Regions from separate parts of the Homo sapiens genome. Here region 1 is linked to region 2. Evidence: promoter capture Hi-C in human tissues and cell types (Jung and others, 2019). All regions are on one chromosome and are shown on one strand. Each heading gives the region's core, a stretch centred on a gene start or on the middle of the fragment in contact. The rest is flanking DNA. Distances are from core to core; before and after follow the strand shown.

Evidence for each region. The method cuts DNA at HindIII sites, captures the fragments that hold promoters and counts their contacts. A contact is called where the count stands out against the background at its distance.
Region 1: a fragment that was not itself captured here is called in contact with the fragment with the promoter of SLC45A2 in region 2 in 1 of the 25 tissues and cell types used here (mesendoderm cells).

The regions. Positions count from the first base shown.
Region 1 is chr5:33,459,407-33,463,788 of GRCh38, reverse strand. It overlaps TARS1 (threonyl-tRNA synthetase 1), which reads right to left. Exons shown (of 19, transcript NM_152295.5): 11 at 3,928-4,094; 12 at 2,725-2,887; 13 at 2,494-2,631; 14 at 2,045-2,122; 15 at 1,783-1,883; 16 at 1,586-1,690; 17 at 1-36. Among named protein-coding and RNA genes, the nearest start is that of TARS1, 21 kb to the right of the region's middle. RefSeq lists an enhancer at 2,169-3,368. The HindIII fragment of the contact is 3,709 bases long and covers 356-4,064 here.
Region 2 is chr5:33,982,831-33,987,206 of GRCh38, reverse strand. It overlaps SLC45A2 (solute carrier family 45 member 2), which reads left to right and starts at 2,514. Exons shown (of 7, transcript NM_016180.5): 1 at 2,514-3,008. The coding sequence starts at 2,624. AMACR (alpha-methylacyl-CoA racemase) reads left to right here. Exons shown (of 5, transcript NM_014324.6): 5 at 1-1,042. It overlaps C1QTNF3-AMACR (C1QTNF3-AMACR readthrough (NMD candidate)), which reads left to right. Exons shown (of 9, transcript NR_037951.1): 9 at 1-221. The HindIII fragment of the contact is 13,392 bases long and covers 1-4,376 here.

The sequences.
Region 1 (4,382 bases), core at 961-3,460, 520 kb after region 2:
ACTACCATTACCTGGCGAGGGGACAGCCAAAAGGGCCTTTGGAAGAGAATAAAAATATTCAGTGTAGATGTGGGCATATTCACTAAACAGGGACAGCATATTTCTTACTCTACTCTTCAGTATCTTTTCCTGGAACATGTAACGACTACTTTTAAAACTTGGCTTTAAAAAACCCCAAAATGAAAAGACCTATCCAATAAAGATTAAGGCGAGGAGATGCAGGAGAAGAAAACTAACCCTACGTAAGGAAAGCCTGTAACTACAATTTGTCTTGCTAAGTAGATAGCAAAGCAAATTGAGGATAGGACTAGGCCTCACACTTTAATACATCACAAAACACTGTGTATTGGCTGTGAGAGGAGGTAACAAATGATTTAATAACTGCATGTAGTGATTAATTGTTCATTTTATTACTTATTCTTCACGGGGACACAGTGCCCTCAGTTTACTCAACATCCATTTTGTATCATTCAGCAAATTGTAATTGATAATAACTGGTTATGGCACTTGGTAAAAATCAGAGTTTTCACTACTTATTAAAAAATAAGCCCATCCAATTCTCCCTTTGAAGCAATACAAGTGTCAAATGCTTCTGATGCTGCAAACATCAGGCTAATGTTTTTCTCCATCATTCCTCTATTTTCAGTTGTTCTGTTGTATCAGGCAAAAGGCTAAAGTAGGCACTAAATTCTACCCTAATCATGGACTTTTCCCCACCTAAAACAGGTTTAGCAGAGCAATTAGCTGAGGACTCCCTTAATTCTTGAAATACCTTGCAGAGAATGTGTCTCACATTTTATCTGACTTTGAGAAATCTAGAGATTATCTTGTATCATTGATCAGAATGAGAAACTGTCCTAATTTCTGAAGTAACCAAGTTCAAATAAAACTGAAATGACAGTAATGTGTAAGATTAAACCAATGTACGTCATTTTACAAAAGTTTTAAATCAATATGATTAATATGGAAGGCTCTACACACGGGTGCTTTTATAACCCTGTGCTGCTTTCAAATGCACTGTGGGTCCAGAAAAAACTGCTTAAGAATTAAGATGAAAGTTATGTGGCCATGTATCTTGGAAACAAAAACTTACTTAACCTCACAGAAATGAATCACAAATGTTGATCGGTTTGGCATCTGTTTTAAAAAATGCTTGGCTTTTAAAACATGTCCAAATACCTGCTTGTTATGATTAGCAAGGCTGAACGAAGAAAGCCATAAGCCTCCTCATTTATCTATGTAAAACCAGCAAAGCCATCTAAATCCCAAAACAAAGTTACTAGAAAAGCATCCAAAACAGTAAGTATACTTCTTACAGAATACTAATTCCTAATTAGAAAGTATTACACAACATCCAAACAAATCAAGTTCTGGAATTAAAGTAATTACTATTAGCAATTGTTCTTAATGCTAAAAAGTTTGTGTTTAGATTGTGATTCCTTATTTTTTAATGAACACTTGTCGTTAGTTAGAAGCAACCGATTGGAATCATTCTCCCTTTCCATCTGATAATTAAATCGAAAAGTAGACATTTCTTGTAGCCAATTTATACTAATCAGAAAAAAAAGACAGTGACAAAAATTACCATTTGCCCCCATAGTTTTCTGTGAGGATAGCAATCATTCTTTCCACTGATCCCAAGATGGCTCGATGAACAATCACTGGCCTTTTCTTATCATCACCATCATGGCTATAAAGAAAAAAAAAATTGTTTTGTCTTATTATATATATTTTCTCTTATATATCCCTGGAGAATATTCAGAGCAGACACCAGAAACTCACCTTACATAAGTAAGATTAAATCTGATGGGCAACTGGAAATCCAGCTGGATGGTTGCACACTGGTGGTACCGCCCAATCGCATCTTTAATCTGTATGTCAATCTAAGAAGCAAAGACTGGGTTATTATAAAATGCCAGTGATACTAAAGTGGAGCTCAATAGTTGGATTAGGGCTGATTTTCTTTTTTCCAACTTTTTTCGAAGTCGTATCTTCTTCATCCACAAGTGAAAATCATATTACCCAAATGTACTTTAGTGCTCACCTTTGGGCCATAGAAAGCTCCATCTCCAGAGTTTAACTCCCACTTTTCACCAAATTCATTCAGACTGTTTTCAAGTTGCTGAGGATAAAGCAAAATGATTTTTATTTTTTTCATCGCAATTTCCCTTCTTTTAGCCTAATTTGAGACTAAAAATACAGTAATTACTTTCATAGATCAATATTCTCTGCTTTAGAATTTTGTCCACCTGAACATATGCTCATACCAACCCCTTTTTAAAGCTTATAGCTTGATAACTGAAAAAAGTCATGAAAACATTCAACCATTTCAAAAATACACAATCATAAAGAAAAAAACTAGCTTACACAAACCTAGGAACCATTTCCAATTTCATTTTGCTTTTATCCATTTAAAGAGGCTTGGCTTTCTTACATCTCAGAACAAGCCAATTTCAAACAGTATTCAAAAGCACGCTGAAAAACACCACTTACTTTCTCAGCTTGATCCCATACTTCGATATCTCCAAGGAATTTTTCCGGGCGAGTAGAAAGGTTTAGTTTAAAAGAAAATCCAAATACGCTATATACCGTACGTAGAAAATCCAAACAACCTTTTATTTCATCTTCAATCTTCAAATTAAAAAACAAAAAAAGAAACAGTAGTTATTTTCCTTGACTTTCTTGACTCTTCTTTCTAAGTATTTTATTCCCAGGGTCTCATACCTGCTCCATGGCACAGAATATGTGAGCATCATCCTGTTGGAATCTTCGTACCCGGGTGAGTCCTGTGAGTGCTCCAGACAGCTCGTTCCTATGAAGTACCCCAAAATCAGCTAGCCGCAGAGGCAGTTCTCGCCAGGACCTTGGCCGATGATCAAACATAAGGCTGAAGAGAAAAAGAAAAGTCCACGGACACTTAAGAATAAAACTGCTTCTGTAATGCTATATTTAATTACACGAAAGGTTGTCAAAAAGCCACTGATTCTAGCTGTCCATCCAAGCAACATTTCTCAAATTCTGGGCTACATACAGCAGTAAAAGCACTTGCATGAATAAAACAGCAAATAAGTTATAACTCAATGAACCACAGTGAAGAATTAAAAAACGTATTCCAACAACTGAAGAATCTGGGAAAATTAAGAATGAACTTGGTTGGTCCCCTAGCCTATAATACAGCTTCTTCACAAAGATTCTTCTCTCACCTCCTCTGCCCTCCAGGCCTGGCTAGTAGGAGCTGCAGACACTAAGCTACCTGTATCCACAGCTCTCCTGTGTCTTCCCTTAAGCTGTTCTTCACCCAACTTTCAAAGATAGAAAGCAGAGCGGCCTCATGACAAGGAACATTTTCCAAGAATGCTGAGTCATTAGCAGGTTTTGACAGAACAGGTTTCTTTAAAACAACAACACACTAGGTAATTTGTTACACCCCCATATTTCATCTTCCTGTTTTATAGTCTGCCTTGGTCATTGCTATGATCCCAGTACCATTACTGAATGCCCACAGATCTGGAGATCTGGCTGGGCACAGTGGCTCATGCCTGTAATCCCAGCGCTTTGGGAAGCCAAGGTTGAAGGACCGCTTGAGGCCAGGAGTTTGAGACCAGGCTGAGCAACGTGGCAAGACCTCATCTCTACAGAAATAAAATTTTAAAAATTAGCTGGGCATGGTGGCATATACCTGCAGTCCCAGCTGCAGTGAGCTATAATCGCATACCTGCACTCCAGTTGGAAGACCTCTTTAAAAAAAAAAAAAAAAAAAGTGGGGATCTAATCAGGTGCAGAAGATATAATACAAAGATGTTGCGTTTAAATGCTCTTCTGATCACATAATTTGTTTTTAATGAAAATGTTGTTAAAGGAGGGAAGAACCCAGGATGAATTGTAGCATGTGAAAATCTTCAGTAGAAATTCAAAGCTGCCGAATACCAGTGTCCTGGGCAGTTCATGGGTTTCAGGGCAAACAGCTCCTTCTCCACCTCAAAGGAGAACATGTTCTCGCTGTAGTGCTGCCAGTGGCCCGAGGTCATCCAGAGTCGGCTGTTGAAGATGTTTGGGGTGACTACCTCCTGGAATCCTCTTTTCCTATATTCGCTCTGATAGAAAATAAACAGAAACATGTGTAGGCAAATAAATGCTCATACTTCAAGTGGGAGTAAAAACTTAAAGAGTGATTTTATACTCTCTCATGAAAAAGATGGACACATGCCATGATTCAGAAATCCCACTTCTAAGTATATACCAGAGAGAAAACTCTTGGCACATGTACCTAAGGAGGCTTATAAAAGTGATGCTACTGCAGCATGGCTGATAATAAGGGACAATTATACATCAGTGTCCATCAATACAGGGATGAGTGCATTGTGGTAGTTATATAACAAAAT
Region 2 (4,376 bases), core at 1,265-3,764:
TTCTACGAAATAAAAATAAAAAAATTATCCAGGTATGGTGGTGTGTGCCTGTAGTCCTATCTACTCAAGGGTGGGGCAGGAGGATCACTTGAGCCCAGGAATTTGAGGCCACAGTGAATTAGGATTGCACCACTGCACTCTAGCCCAGGCAACAGAACAAGAACCTGTCTCTAAATAAATAAATAAAAATAATAATAATAAAAAAGATGTTTTCCCTACAACTCAGACTTTTCATTTGAACTCGGTCCAGCAAGGAAAATATAACCCACTCGAAGTCTTTAAAACAGAGGAAATTTAATATAAAGAATTCCACTGGTGACGAAAGAGCAGAGAAGCCCAGAAGATAGTGAGGCAACCCTGATAGGAACATAACTAGGAAGCCAAGACCACTCCTATGGTTGCAGGGGTGATGGGAAAGCTGGTGTACTTGGACCCAGAAGCCAAAGTTGCTGCACCCACCTTGGAGACATAGACACTGGCAGTAATACCTCAGGGAGAAGAAAGAAATCTAGGGAAATATCCTGGCTTCTTTCCTTCTCTCTCTCCCCTAGTCTTCCTACCAGTGTCTCCCATTAGCCAAATCTACCTAGAAGCCAGAAAACAAGGGAACCCTGGAAATGTAGCCCCATAAGATAAAGAGCACCAAAGGAAATAGATCTGAGCAGACAGGCAGCACAAAATGCAGTGTGTATGGTTTATTCACTCAGTAATTCCTTTAGCAAATGTTTATTGAGGATCTACTAGGTGCCAGGTATCATGATACTTGCTGGGGATACCATAATGAACAAAACAGACCTGTTCTCCGCTCTTGAGGAAATCAAAGACAAACACAGGATATGGAATAAACCCAGAATTATCTCATTGTAAAATGTGTTAAGTACCACGAGGAGAAATATCAGGGCGATCTGACACAGCTAATGATTTGAAGAAGGGTGTGACCTGCCACCATTTTAAATCTAGTTATTTCACTCCTGAGCTGTGTGTGTGGAAAACTTGTAGTAAAAAATAGAATGTCTATATTTATAAAAAGTTTATGAAAAGATATCAATTTATTTACATTTTGACAAACTCTATGTAATAAGGCTTTATTACCTCACGGCCATGTGTGTGATCATGTGTAATAGCATGTGTGTATGAGAGAGAGAAGCCATATGTAATTATGTGTAATAACGTCTGTGAGAGAGAAGCCATGTGTGTGATCATGTAAAATAACGTGTGTGAGAGAAGCCATGTGTGTGATCGTGTAAAATAACGTGTGTGAGAAGCCGTGTGTGATGTGTAATAACACGTGTGTGAGAGAGAAGCTATGTGTGCAATCATGTGTAATAGCATGTGTGTGTGAGAGAAGCCATGAGTCCGATCATGTGTAATAACGAGAAAAGCCCCATGTGTGATCATGTGTAATAGTGTGTGTGAGAGAAAAGCCATGTGTGTGGTCATGTGTAATAATGTGTATGAGAGAGAAGCCGTGTGTGATCGTTGTGTAATAACGTGTGTGAGAGAGAAACCATGTGTGATCATGTGCAATAGCATGTGTGTGTGAGAGAAGCCATGTGTGATCATGTGCAATAGTGTGTGAGAGAGAAGCTGTCATGTGTAATAATGTGTGAGAGAAGCCATGTATGATCATGTGTAATAACGTGAGAGAAGCCATGTGTGACCATGTGTAATAACGTGTGTGAGAGAAGCCATGTGTGTGGTCATGTGTAATAAAATGCATGAGAAGCCATGTGTGATCATGTGTAATAGCATGTGAGAGAGAAGCCATGTATGATCATGTGTAATAACGCATGTGAGAGAAGCCATGTGTGACCATGTGTAATGTGTGTGAGAGAAGCCATGTGTGATCATGTGTAATAGCATGTGTGTGAGAAGCCATGTGTATGATCATGTGTAATAACATGCATGAGAGAAGCCGTGTGTGATCATGTGTAATAGCATGTATGTGAGAAACCATGTGTGATCATGTGTAATGTGTGTGAGAGAAGCCATGTGTGTGATCATGTGTAATAGCATGTGTGTGAGAAGCCGTGTGTGATCATGTGTAATAGCATGTGTGTGTGAGAAGCCAGGTGTGATCACGTTTAATAGCGTGTGTGTGAGAGAAGCCATGTGTGTGATCATGTGTAATAATGTGTGTGTGAGAGAAGCCACGTGTGTGATCATGTGTAATAGCATGTGTGTGTGAGAGAGAAACCATGTGTGTGATCATGTGTAATACTGTCTGAGAGAGCCCATGTGTGTGATCACGTGTAATAACGTGTGTGTGAGAGGGAGAGAAGCCATGTGTGTGATCACGTGTAATTGTGTGTGTGTGTGAGAGAGAGAGAAAGAGAGAGGGAACAGTACAAAGGAGGATCCCTTTAGAAAAGTATTCCAACGTCTTATGGAGCCAGAGGGCTGATTCACAGCTGCTAATCTCTGTCATGCTTTCCAGCACCACCCCCTCCCTCTCATCATAACTTGTGATCTTAGAGGCAGGAAAGAATTTGAGCCCCTCCCCCAGCCTGACCATCTCTGTTGGTTGCTCGGCCAGGCTCCACGTCAAATCCAGTTTGAAACACAGACCCTAGGACCACGCAGGAGGTGGTGGGCTCGCAGGAAGGTTCCTCTCCCAGTGGCCATGGGTAGCAACAGTGGGCAGGCTGGCCGCCACATCTATAAATCCCTAGCTGATGATGGCCCCTTTGACTCTGTGGAGCCGCCTAAAAGACCCACCAGCAGACTCATCATGCACAGCATGGCCATGTTCGGAAGAGAGTTCTGCTACGCGGTGGAGGCAGCGTATGTGACCCCAGTCCTGCTCAGCGTAGGTCTGCCCAGCAGCCTGTACAGCATTGTGTGGTTCCTCAGCCCCATCCTGGGATTCCTGCTGCAGCCCGTGGTCGGATCGGCCAGCGACCACTGCCGGTCCAGGTGGGGCCGCCGGAGACCCTACATCCTCACCCTGGGAGTCATGATGCTCGTGGGCATGGCTCTGTACCTCAATGGGGCTACTGTTGTAGCAGGTAAGTGGGCTGCACAAGGTGGGCAGACAGGGATATGTGTCTTAGTGTGTACCTCTGCAGGAGGAGGATGTTCATGTGTTTGACCTTTCCTAGAAATTTGTTAGAATTGATCTCTCCTAGGTTACAATGAACTTCCCCTTTGACAAATTTGGCCCAGATTCTGTGGTTGGGGAGCCTCTACTTCTAGAAATATCAAAATAAATATGTTTCATTGTTGTGAAGATTTAAAAATAGGATTAAATTTGTATCTATTTTATTAAATTTGTATCTATTTTATCGAATTGAATATTTTTACATATTTATCAATTGAGTTACTTTTTGAGCCCATTATGCTCTATTTAATACTCTTATCAAATTGACTGGCTGCCAAATAGCTCCATAAATATTTACAATAAGTCACCTGTGTATCCAAATAAGTTAATTCTGTTCATAGTTTTATGTAGAGCGTTTTAATAGGCGTAGGGCATAAGCCCATCAGCTCAAGAGGACCTTTCTGGCATTGCAAATTCTGGACAAAAGCAAACCTGAGGGTAGGCATTTTTTCTAGCCATTAATCAGCTACCAATTAATCAGTAATTGATGGTAGTACAATAAAGTTGCATTGCAAAAAGGATCGCTAAAAATAGCACACATTTGTAGATCATTAACTCTCAAGCTAGCAGAATCGGTGATTATGAGGCAGGATAATCAATTATCATTTGTACATATTTGAAAGAAAGCGTAAATGTACAAATGTAGGATATTTCCAGGAGAATGAACAAAAAGCTGATAAGCATTGTTGACTCTAAGGAGGATTACTGAAGGACAGGAGGTGAGAAGTGGCGGGTAGACTTATTGTTCATTTAATTTTATACTGCAATTTTTAAAACGTGTATATAATCTATGCTATTCTTAAGTTTAAAAAGCAAATGGAAACAAGAGAAACAACAATGTATCTTTTATAGGAGATTGGGTAAACGATTACAGCGTATCCGTAGAATGAAAATCCAGCTGTTAAAAATTGTGAGGAGCTGAAATTATATGAAGAAAGTTGGTTACTGCATCAGTGCTGTTCAAAGATGTGGCCTCTGACCTGCCCCTCAGCATCAGCAGAGACCGTTAGAGATGCAGTTTCTCGGGCCCCCTTCAGGCCCACCAATTGAATCAGAGTCTTGGGAAATGGGGCCAGCAATCTGTGTTTTAACAAGACATACAAGCGATAGTTCAATATGCCAGACTTTGAGAAGCACTGCGTTTGACTACCATTGTACACGTGTGTCTGTATGTGCAGAAGTGCGTAAAAGGAGGCCTTAAAGCCTGACCTTTGCTGGGGCTGGGATTGGAAGCATCTCCCTCAGCTTTTTTAATAGAATTGGAATTGCTTGCGAT